Linked DNA regions of Homo sapiens: regions 2 and 3 are each linked to region 1. The links are contacts of gene promoters, found by promoter capture Hi-C in human tissues and cell types (Jung and others, 2019). All regions are on one chromosome and are shown on one strand. The core of a region is centred on a gene start or on the middle of the fragment in contact, and the rest is flanking DNA. Distances in the headings are between cores, read along the strand shown.

Region 1 (4,147 bases), core at 665-3,164:
ATCACCAAACGGAGAATTTTCTGCCCAAAAAAAAAAAAATACATTAGATGGCCTTTTCTTTTTCTTTGTTCTCATGGATGGTTTTCAGATTAGGTTTGTTTTTTGTTGTTGCTTTTGTGTGTCTTTAACATTTATTTCAGCAGAGCCCAAACATTCACACAAGAATAAAGCTCTGAAGTTTCTGGCACGTAAGATACGCCCAAGACTATTCCTAGACACCAGCAAACAGACGAGGTTGAAGAAGAAACAGGTGAAGAATAATGTCTTAAACATCATTTTAGCACCCTATTCTGCCATTCTGTATCTTTATAGGATATGTCCAGTCCAGTCCCAGAAAATCTACTGCCCAAGGAGTTCTAGATGACAGGTTAGATCAAGCCCCGGCAAATGTTTGCGAAAACAACATTCAACTGCCTCTGGACATTGCAAAGACATATTCCAGGGAGCTATCTCTTGGGCTCTTTTTTAACATCTCTCCTAGAGGATGAGACTCCTTTCGGGATTACAGCCACTGGGAAAGTAAAAGCAACAGTAGCATCAACAGGTTGCATCGCACTCCCGCGCCCCAGGGGCGGTGCAGGAGAGCGCCCGGAGCCAGAGCCAGGGCGCGCTGGGCGCAAGCTGGGGCGCGCCCAGGGCCAATGAGCTTCTGATTGGCTCTTTGCTGTGAATAGACTAGGCCGAGGCTAATAGGACCGGAGGGGGCGTTCACCTGGGAATTGGCCTCCCCCCCTTGCCAAGGACCTCCCTGATTGTATGGGGCGGAGTGGGGTGGGGGTGGGGGCTGGAAAGGGGAAGCCCACCCTAACTAAACGGAGGGGCGGGAGGAGGTTAAACTGAGGAAGCCACGAGCCCGCAGTAAAGAGAGGGCGATCGAGGCAAAAGGGTAGGTAACTTGGGACTTCTGTGCCTTGAAAGTGTTAAGGATTGCAGGGAATGCAGGCGCCTTTCATTTTACTTTGGGCACCCTCCCCTGGCTGGGCATTTAATGAGGAGTCCTACTGTGTGTGTTGAAACTCTGCATAATACCGTAAAATATTCTGGCCCTAAATTACACTCAACGGAGAGATTTAGGCAGATTACAATCCTAATTGGCCGCAGGGTGCTGGGGAAAGGGGACAGAGAGAATTGGGGGATCTGGAATTTGGTGTGCTATCACTACACCGCAGCTCTATTTTCCATTAAGAAAAAGATCATATGACGAAGTCGAACTAAGAGATCTGAAGTAAAAAATGAAAAGATGGAGCAAAAGTAAGAAACATACTCTGAGACGAGTGGGTTTTCCCCCTTTATTCCAACAGCAATCTTAAATGATGGACGTCATGTAGCAGTTATATATCTATGAACATGCATGAGAGATTTATAAATACCTGCATACATAAATACAAACATCCTATTATACATGAGAAATCGTAAATGCTTGGGCATCAGAAGTGGGAGCTGTGATCCTAGCTTGGGGGCAGCACAGGGTAGGCGGCCTTCTCTCTGCTTTGAGTGGCTTCTGGGCGCCTGGCGGGTCCAGAATCGCCCAGAGCCGCCCGCGGTCGTGCACATCTGACCCGAGTCAGCTTGGGCACCAGCCGAGAGCCGGCTCCGCACCGCTCCCGCACCCCAGCCGCCGGGGTGGTGACACACACCGGAGTCGAATTACAGCCCTGCAATTAACATATGAATCTGACGAATTTAAAAGAAGGAAAAAAAAAAAAAAACCTGAGCAGGCTTGGGAGTCCTCTGCACACAAGAACTTTTCTCGGGGTGTAAAAACTCTTTGATTGGCTGCTCGCACGCGCCTGCCCGCGCCCTCCATTGGCTGAGAAGACACGCGACCGGCGCGAGGAGGGGGTTGGGAGAGGAGCGGGGGGAGACTGAGTGGCGCGTGCCGCTTTTTAAAGGGGCGCAGCGCCTTCAGCAACCGGAGAAGCATAGTTGCACGCGACCTGGTGTGTGATCTCCGAGTGGGTGGGGGAGGGTCGAGGAGGGAAAAAAAAATAAGACGTTGCAGAAGAGACCCGGAAAGGGCCTTTTTTTTGGTTGAGCTGGTGTCCCAGTGCTGCCTCCGATCCTGAGCCTCCGAGCCTTTGCAGTGCAATGTCCCGCCTGCTGCATGCAGAAGAGTGGGCTGAAGTGAAGGAGTTGGGAGACCACCATCGCCAGCCCCAGCCGCATCATCTCCCGCAACCGCCGCCGCCGCCGCAGCCACCTGCAACTTTGCAGGCGAGAGAGCATCCCGTCTACCCGCCTGAGCTGTCCCTCCTGGACAGCACCGACCCACGCGCCTGGCTGGCTCCCACTTTGCAGGGCATCTGCACGGCACGCGCCGCCCAGTATTTGCTACATTCCCCGGAGCTGGGTGCCTCAGAGGCCGCTGCGCCCCGGGACGAGGTGGACGGCCGGGGGGAGCTGGTAAGGAGGAGCAGCGGCGGTGCCAGCAGCAGCAAGAGCCCCGGGCCGGTGAAAGTGCGGGAACAGCTGTGCAAGCTGAAAGGCGGGGTGGTGGTAGACGAGCTGGGCTGCAGCCGCCAACGGGCCCCTTCCAGCAAACAGGTGAATGGGGTGCAGAAGCAGAGACGGCTAGCAGCCAACGCCAGGGAGCGGCGCAGGATGCATGGGCTGAACCACGCCTTCGACCAGCTGCGCAATGTTATCCCGTCGTTCAACAACGACAAGAAGCTGTCCAAATATGAGACCCTGCAGATGGCCCAAATCTACATCAACGCCTTGTCCGAGCTGCTACAAACGCCCAGCGGAGGGGAACAGCCACCGCCGCCTCCAGCCTCCTGCAAAAGCGACCACCACCACCTTCGCACCGCGGCCTCCTATGAAGGGGGCGCGGGCAACGCGACCGCAGCTGGGGCTCAGCAGGCTTCCGGAGGGAGCCAGCGGCCGACCCCGCCCGGGAGTTGCCGGACTCGCTTCTCAGCCCCAGCTTCTGCGGGAGGGTACTCGGTGCAGCTGGACGCTCTGCACTTCTCGACTTTCGAGGACAGCGCCCTGACAGCGATGATGGCGCAAAAGAATTTGTCTCCTTCTCTCCCCGGGAGCATCTTGCAGCCAGTGCAGGAGGAAAACAGCAAAACTTCGCCTCGGTCCCACAGAAGCGACGGGGAATTTTCCCCCCATTCCCATTACAGTGACTCGGATGAGGCAAGTTAGGAAGGTGACAGAAGCCTGAAAACTGAGACAGAAACAAAACTGCCCTTTCCCAGTGCGCGGGAAGCCCCGCGGTTAAAGATCCCCGCACCCTTTAATTTTTGCTCTGCGATGGTCGTTGTTTAGCAACGACTTGGCTTCAGATGGCAGCTACATTTGATGGTTTGCAAATGCCGCCGCTGTTCCAAACTTCCTACGGTCCATATTGTTTGATGAAAACTTTCTGTTAAAATTGTGTCCTTTCCGCCCACCTTCTGCTCCCCCTTTAGATAGATACGGTATAATTGTAGGTACCCGTATATGGCATCATTATTCTAGTTCCCTGCTGCCAATACGCTGCTAAAACGTCGCATCTTCTCTGTCACTGGTTTGGGTTTAATTTATTTTACGCCCTGGGCATCCATCCTTGTGTGTTGCGCACTCAAGTGTGGGAGATTTAGTCTTCCGAAGTTGTTTTCCAAAATGCACAATGAAACGCAAAATTAGTGCTTCCAAAGTGGATAACTTTTGACTATGGAATTGTTAGAAAACAAGAAACTTTAAGGTTTATATATTGTATAAACATACCCAGTATGTGCATCCGATCGCGAGAACGTTGGCGTCTTTTAGGAAACTCCGCGCACGCACTTTATCAGCCGCTGCTGCGGTGGTGGCTCCAGGAGAAACTCAACTGCCAATTGCAGACCAGTTTTTTTTTTTTTAAACACAGCCACTTATAATTCTTAAGCTCTTTGCAAATGTTTGTTTAAAAAATGAAAAATTAAAAAAAATCTAGTAGTGTCAAACGCATTTGGTCAATTTTATTTTGCTTTGTTAATATTAGAAAACTTATTTATTATTGTTTGCTACCATTTCTACTTATCTTGATTCATTTTTTACGTTTTCTACTCGAGATCATTTTATTTTAATTTAGCAAAGCCAACTGCCCTTGTTTAATGTATTTTGTTTTGCAAATGATTAAAATAAATGTGAAAAGAAGCCTTTTGTCACTTATTCC
Region 2 (4,147 bases), core at 601-3,100, 210 kb after region 1:
CATTTTACCCACAGTAGGACTTCTTTGAAAACTGGAGTCAACCCTCTCGAATTCTGCCACTGCCTTATCAACTAAGTTGATGTAATGTTCTAAATCCTTTGTTGTCATTTCCAAAATGTCTACAGCATCTTCACCAGGAATAGATTCCACCCAAAGACACCACTTTCTTTGCTCATCTATAAGAAGCAATTTCTCATCCATTCAAGTTGATTATGAGATTGCAGCGATTCAGTTACACCTTCAGGTTCTACTTCTAATTTTAGTTCTCTTGCTATTTCACCACATCTCAGTTACTTCCTCCACTGAAGTACTGAATCCCTCAAAATCATTCATGGGGGTTGGAATCAACTTTGTCCAAACCTCTGCTAATGTTGACATTCTGACCTCCTCCCATAAATCGTGAATGTTTTTAATAGTAAATCCTTTCCAAAAAGTTTTCGATTTACTTTTCCCAGATCCATGACAGAAATCACTATCAATGGCAGCTATAGCCTAAAGAAATGTATTTCTTAAATGGTAAGAGTTGAAAATCAAAATTATTCTTTGATCATGGGCTGCAGAATGGATGCTGTGTTAGCAAGCATGAAAACAACATTAATCACCCTGTATATTTTCATCAGAGCTCTTGGGTGACTAGGTGCATTGTCAACGAGTAGTAATATTTTTAAAAGAATCTTTTTTTGAGGAGTGTGGCTCAAGAGTGGGCTAAAAATGTTCAGTAAGCCAAGCCATGAACAGATTTGCTGTCCCCCCAGGCTTTGTTTTCCTTCATAGAGCATAACCAGAGTAGATTTAGCTTAATATGTATGGGTTTTGGGATTTTCAGAATGGTAAATGAACACTGGCTTCAACTGAAAGTCACCAGCTACATTAACCCCTGACAAGAGAGTCAGCCTATCCTTTGAAGCTTTGAAGCTAAATGTTGACTTCTCTCTAGCTATAAAAGCTAATGGATGGCATCTTATTTCGATAGAAGACTATATTGTTTACATAGATATTCTTTGTTTAGTGTAGCCACCTTTATCCATTATCTTAGCTAGACCTTCTGGATAACTTGCAGTGGCTTCTGCATCAGCTCTTGCTGTTTCACCTTGTACTTTTATGTTATGGAGATGGCTTCTTTCCTTCAACCTCATGAACTAACCTCTGCTAGCTTCTAACTTTTCTTCTGCAGCTTCCTCATCTCTGTCAGCCTTCCTAGAATTGAAAAGAATTCGGTCTTTACTCTGGATTAGATTTTGACTTAAGGGAATGCTGTGGCTGGTTAGATCATCTATCCAGACCACTCAAACTTTCTTCACATCAGCAATAAAACTGTTTTATTTTCTTATCATTTGTGTGTTCATTGGAGTAGCACTTTAAATTTCTTTCAAGAACTCTTCTTTTACATTTACAACATGGCTAATTGTTTGGTGCAAGGGGCCTAGCTTTGGCCCTATCTAGTTTTCAACATGCCTTCCTCACTAAGCTAAATCATTCTCAGCTTTTGATTTCAGGTGAGAGGTGTGTGAATCTTTTTTTCACTTGAAGACTTAGAGGCCATTATAGAGTTATTAAGTGGCCTAATTTCAGTATTGTGTCTCAGGGAATATGGAGGCCCCAAAAGAGGGAGAGAAACTGGGGAATAGCTGATTGGTGGGGCAGTCAGAGTACACACATTTATCAATTAAGTTTGCTGTCCTGTATGGACAGAATTCATGGTGCTCCAAAACAAATACAATAGTAACATCACATATCACTGATTACAGATAGCCATAACAGATATATAATAATGAAAAAGTTTGAAATAGTGCAAGAATTACCAAAATGTGACACAGACACAAAGTGACATAAGCTGTTGGAAAAATGGTGCCAACAGACTTGCTCAACGCAGGGTTGCCACGAATCCTCAATTTGTAAAAAGGTCAATATCTGCCAAATTCAATAAAGCAAAGCACAATAAAATGAGTTATGCCTGTACTTGGGGATTGGAAGCCATCAAATCTTTATACCACCACACACAATGAATGACTGCTTGATTTTACATTTGTGCAAAAGGTAAACTGCTGCAGTACATTGCAAACCATGGAGCATGAGGGAGTTGTGTGTGTCTGTGTTCAAACAACACAGAGAATGGGTGCTTCACCTGATACAAAAGCTCCTACAGCAGCCTCTCCATCAGTGCAGCTCCCTCTCACCCCATTGCCTAGATGGAGACAGAGACTGAAAATTGGGAGTACCAGACAGAGAAGGAAGTTCTCGTGTCATGTCACTCAACCACACAACCTTGGTTGCTTTTCCTCATTCTTCACCTCCTCCCCTGTTCATACAGCTCTTAATTCCCCAGCTTGAAGGAGATATTGGAAAGGCTGTGAATAAGTGTGTGTGTGTGTGTGTGTGTGTGTGTGTGTGTAATAAAAACACAAGAAGCCTCCATTAATTTCCACAATCTCATATCGAGAATATATGAAAATAGAAAAGTCTGAAATTAAACTCCCATGCAGCAGTTAGTACATATATAAATACCTAGCTCTAGTAACAAGGTCTTGGAACTGGAAACTTTGAAAAGTCATGCAAGGCCCTTTTTTGCACAGATAGGTTACATACCTTATCCTGATAAGAAGGTGGACAATGTCCATGCTGTCATGGAGAAAAGAAATGTGAAAAATGAACATGCGACTATAATTTACATGTGCTTCCATGATTTGGTTTAAAATATACGGAACCTAATATGTGTTGGTCATTGTACTGAGTGCCAGGGATCTAGAAGTGATGGAGACAAATACCTGCGTTCAAGAAGCTTACTGTCTAACAGGAAAGGTAAACATATAATAGGACATTTCAATAGATAGCATTAACCTCATAAAAGTGGCAAGAACTAAGTACCAAAACACCACATAATGACCCTGAAGAGGGAGGCTGGACCAGAGAATGCTTCACATTCTACGACTAGGTCTTGAAGATAAATGTTTCCCAGGTAGACAGGAAGACAAAGTTAATCTAGAAACAAAGAATACATAGAAAAATAGAGAAATGAACCCACATGGAACTTTCAAGGAACAGAAATAATTCTATAATATCTGAGCATGCATTTGACCAGATGAAACTAAGCATACTACGAGATGTTGTAGAATAATGAAATAAGCCCTAGAAGTTTGGGATTTAGGAATTAGCTCTGCTACTTTGTAGCTGTGAGCCATTGGGCAAGTCAGTCTCTCAAAGTTTCTGCTTTCTCTGTTGTGGAGACAATAATTCCTGCACAAGATATATGGAAGTAAATATGGGCTACTCAATTGAATTTTAGGCAAGGGTACCTTTTGGGGAAGTGTGTAAGTCTGAGACCAGAGGATGAGAAGGTGGGATAAAATGTTTAGGCTGAGACATAAGGCAAAGCTGAGAAGCGAAATAGAAAACATGGCACTTTCGAAGGGTTAAAAGTTTAATATGGCTGGGTGCAGTGGCTCACACCTGTAATCTCAGCACTTTGGGAGGCCGAGGAGGGTGGATCACCTGAGGTCAGGAGTTCGAGACCAGCCTGGCCAACCTGGTGAAACCCCATCTCTACTAAAAATACAAAAATTAGCTGGGTGTGGTGCTGGGTGCCTGTAATCACAGCTACTCAGGAGGCTGAGGCAGGAAAATCACTTGAACCCAGGAGGCAGAGGTTGCAGTGAGCTGAGATCACACCTGGGTGACAGAGTGAGACTCTGTCTCAAAAATAAATAAATAAATAAATAGGTTTGATATGCCTGGAGCATGAAGTACCAATAGTGAAAATTGAAGCTGTAGTGGTTAACATGGAAAACCATGAGTTGGGACTTCAGTCAATAGGCTAGTGGTAAAGTACTGAAGATTTTTTTGTTTGTTTAGTTTTGTTTGGTTATGTTTTGCTTTGACTTTAAAGCAGGAAAGTGATTGAATAAGATGATCCCTTTAAGGCCGATAGGTTCCAAGATGGCCGAATAGGAACACCTCCAGTCTGCAGCTCCCAACGTGATCCATGCAGAAGACGGGTGATTTCTGCATTTCCAACTGAGGTACCTGGTTCATCTCACTGGGACTGGATGGACAGTGGGTGCAGCCCATGGAGGGCGAGACAAAGCAGGGCAGGGCATCACTTCACCCGGGAAGCGCGAGGGTCAGGGGACTTACTGTACCTGGAAAAAAC
Region 3 (4,147 bases), core at 820-3,319, 150 kb after region 1:
TGGACAGGGCCACATAGCTATTGTTCTGCACAATTTAATGCTAAGCCAGAGAATGTCAAAACCTGGTAGGACATTCTAATCTGATTCCATCTCATCTCTTCCTTTTAGCCTATGCTAATAGAAAATTACTTAGAATCTTGTATCTTTAACTGAACCTTTTTTCAGCTATATCTTTCATCTTATTGCTTAGTCTCCTAGTTTTAAAATATAGTCTATCAGTCTTGCATCTTTTTTTCTGACTGTCCTACAAGCATCCAGGCCCAGGCCCAGGGCAGACTTTAACTTATCAACAATCTGAAAAAGACAAAAACTGACTTCATTCAAAAGAGGGCTATCTGGGGGACACAAAGTCCCCAAATATCCATATATAGGAAATCCGTGTAAAGTGTTAAATAAACAATAAAAATAACTATAGCAAGAGAAACAAATTTGCTTTCGTATATTCTGAAAAACACATCTTAGCTCTTATTTCATATGGGATAAGGTGTTAGAGAAAGAAAATTCTGATTTATCCAAGATTTGTATTTCTTTCTCTTGTGCCATTTTTAAATCTGAATCATTCTTTTATATTTTGCCTTCTTTTTAGGGCAATTTTAACATATCCTCCACCATCCCTCATTCAAATATTTCTTTGCAGGCTGGTGGTGGTGGCTCATACCTGTAATCCCAGTGCTTTGGGAGGCAGAAGCAGGAGGATTGCTTGAGGCCAGAAGTTCAAGACCAGCCTGGGCAGCATAGTGAGACCCTGTCTCCACAAAATAAAAATAAAATTAGCCAGGATGCTGGGGTGGGAGGATTGCTTGAGTCTAGGAGTTTGGGGTAACAGTGAGCTACGATTGTGCCACTGTACTCCAGCCCAGGCAACAGAGTGAGACCCTATCTCAAAAAAAAAAAAAAACACAGATATTTCTTTGCAAAATTCATATAATAGCCATGAGATACACTTCATCAAGCCAAATTTCTTATTCCAGAACCAAACTCTGTTCCCGCTAAAGACAGGCCTCAAGTCTTTATGTGAAATAAAATGTAACCTCTAGATACAAGGTTCTGGAAGTCTCACAAAAAGTTGGTATTCTTAGGCAGACCTGGTTTCTATGACTATTTTTAGAGCACACCAAAAAGCTATGGTAAAAGAAAAATTATTATTATTATTATTATTATTAAGCACCTTTGTAAGTAGGAGACATTTGTTCATGTAATTTGCATACATGGAACTGTCACAAAGAACATCTGTAACAGGTAATAATTAATGATAAAAACAAATTAAAATAGGGTATAAAATACCATCAGAAATCCCAGATGTTTTGATATTTTATTACTGTTATTGCAGATGTCTCAAAATAGCATTTATACTCATCACCACTTTGAAATAATGATAGTTATTAGATCCACTAATAGATCTTATTACTTAATGTGTTACTAAACAAGCAAATAGAGTACCATATATTTTTGGTGACTGTATTTTAATGTAATAATTTTCTTTTGTAATCATGTGTATTTTTATTATGCATAAATAAATTTTCATGCATTATTTTGAGAGTAATCACTTGACTATTAAAGAAGGGGTCAATGGCAGACACAAAATACATTGACACCCTGTTGTATAAAACCAGGTATAAGATTTTAAAAAGAGGGAAATGTTAATTTTCTAATCAATTGATAAATGTATAACAATATAGGACCCTTCAGATTTTCTATTGTATCTTGTGTCAATTTGGATATGTTGTATTTTTCAAATAATTTATCTGTTTAATCTAACTTGTTAGATTTATTGGCATAAAGTTGTCTACATTTTCTCTTATTATCCTTTTAATAGTTACAACATCTCTAGTGATATTCTCTCTTAATTCCTGATATAGGTATAATTTATGTCCCTCTCTTTATTTCTTAATCATTCTAACTAGGAGTTATCAATTTTGTTGATCTTTTAAAACAACTAGCTTTTGCTTTTGTTGAATTTCTCAAATGATTTTCTGCTTTTCATTGGTATCACACCTTTCTGCTTTTCTAATACAGGCATTTAAAAGCTATACATTTCCCTCCAAGCACTGCTTTAGCTGCATCACACAGATTTTTTATAACTTTCCGTGTTCACTGTTAGTCAGTTAAAATATCTAAATTCACTAGTGAGTTCCTTCAGTCATGGTAATTTAGAAGTATATTATTTACTTTCCAACATTTGAGCAATTTTCTAAATACCTGATATTTTCATTGAAATAGAAGTCTGAGTTGACAGTTTTCTTTCAGTGTCTTAAAGATGGTATACTGCTGTTTTTTGTATACCATTGTTTTTGATAATAAATCATTTATATTCTTGTTCCCCTGTATACCATATGTCCTTTGACTCTGTTAATATTTTCTCTTTATCTTTAATTTTTAGCAGGTTGAGTATAATGTATCTAGGTGTGGTTTTATGTTTTTTCAGCAGTGAGACTTTTAAATCTATAAATAAGATCTTTAGATTTATAAGATTTATAGACTTTTAAATCTGTAAATTAAGATCTTTTGAGCCATTATTGGTAATATATTTTACACTCTAATTAACTATCTGTTAGACTGTTTGATATTGTTCCACAGATATTGAGACTCTATTTTTTTCATCTTTATTCTTTCTGATCTTCAGATTGAATAATTTCTATTGCTCTACTTTCAAATTCAATGATAATTTATCATCTCTGATCTTCTTTCAAACTCTCAGTATTTCTTTAGATATGTTTATTTCAGTTTAATAATTTCCAATTGGTTTTTTTCACAGTTTCTATTTCTTGGCTGAAATTTCCTATTTGTTAGCTCATTGCAGCCATATTTTATTTTACATCCTTGAATATAGCTTAATAATTGCTTTAAAATCCTTATATGGCTGGCTGCAGTGGCTCACACCTGTAATCCCAGCACTTTGGGAGACCAAGGCAATGAACTGCTTGAGCCCAGGAGCTTGAGACCAGCCTGAGCAACATGATGAAACCCCATTTCTACAAAAAATAAAAAATAAATTAACCATGCTTGGTGGTGCACACCTGTGGTCCCAGCTACTTGGGAGGCTGAGGTAGGAGGATCGCTTGAGCCCAGGAGGTGGAGGTTGACCAGGAGGCAGAGGTTGCAGTGAGCCAAGACTGTGATGCTACACCCCAGCCTGGGCAACAAAGCAAGACCCTGCCTCAAAAAAAAATCCTTATTTGATAATTTCAGTATCTGAATCACCTAAGAGACAAATTACTACCTTTTCTCATAAATAAGGATTGCATTTTCCTATTGTTTCATGTGTCTAGTAATTTGGAATTGCATCCTGTGAGTGATATATTATAAATATTTATTGTATCTTTTCAGTGAAATATTGTAAAGACTCGGGATTCTCTTATATTCCTCCAGATAATATTGTGGGGGTTTTTGATGAGTTTGTTGTTATATTAGCTGGCAGTTAACTTGGCTGAACTCAAACTTTAAACTCTCTATCCCTTGTGGAGTGATGCAGCTGAAATCCTGTTAAATTATTTAGCCTTAGCTACTCCATGCATATGCAATTCATGGATCAGCCAGAAATAGTAGCATATTTTATACTCAGAATTTGGGATGCCCCTCTCCTTTCCTGTATTTTCTCCCTGTATTAGTTTTTTAGAGCTGCCATAACAAAGTATAATAAGCTGGGTGCCTTAAAACAAGAAATGTATTCTCTAGTAATTCTGGAAGCTAGAAATCCAAAATGAAGGTACTAGTAAGGTTGATTTCTTCTAGAGGATCTGAAGGAGATTCAGTTTTACGGTTCTCTCCCAGTTTCTGGCCATTGCCAGCAATACTTGGCATTCCTTGGTTTATAGCTGCATACTCCAATCTCTGCCCTTTCTTCACATAGCCATCTTCCCTCTGTGTATCTGTGTCCACATTTTCTTCTTCGTATAAGGCTAGATTAGGGCCTATCCTAATCTAGTATGACCTCATTTTAACTTTACTACATCTGCAAAGATTCTATTTTCAAATAAAGTCACATTCACAGATTCGGAGTAGACATGAATTTTCAGTGGACACTATTAACCCAGTATGTTACCTTACTTACCAGTGGCTGTGGCAGCCTCAAATTCTGTCCTGAGTCTTTGAGCCATTAAGATTGCAGATTTCCATCCAAATTTTAGCTGCTACTTGCATCACTGAG

What was found. The method cuts DNA at HindIII sites, captures the fragments that hold promoters and counts their contacts. A contact is called where the count stands out against the background at its distance.
Region 2: a fragment that was not itself captured here is called in contact with the fragment with the promoter of ATOH1 in region 1 in 2 of the 25 tissues and cell types used here (H1 embryonic stem cells and mesendoderm cells).
Region 3: a contact is called between a fragment that was not itself captured here and the fragment with the promoter of ATOH1 in region 1, in 2 of the 25 tissues and cell types used here (hippocampus and ovary).

The regions. Positions count from the first base shown.
Region 1 is chr4:93,826,839-93,830,985 of GRCh38, forward strand. ATOH1 (atonal bHLH transcription factor 1) reads left to right here and starts at 1,915. Exons shown (of 1, transcript NM_005172.2): 1 at 1,915-4,126. The coding sequence starts at 2,089. The coding sequence ends at 3,153. RefSeq lists an enhancer at 32-737. The HindIII fragment of the contact is 12,246 bases long and covers 1-4,147 here.
Region 2 is chr4:94,040,575-94,044,721 of GRCh38, forward strand. No RefSeq gene overlaps it. Among named protein-coding and RNA genes, the nearest start is that of SMARCAD1-DT, 160 kb to the right of the region's middle. The HindIII fragment of the contact is 3,748 bases long and covers 1-3,724 here.
Region 3 is chr4:93,972,268-93,976,414 of GRCh38, forward strand. No RefSeq gene overlaps it. Among named protein-coding and RNA genes, the nearest start is that of ATOH1, 150 kb to the left of the region's middle. The HindIII fragment of the contact is 9,166 bases long and covers 1-4,147 here.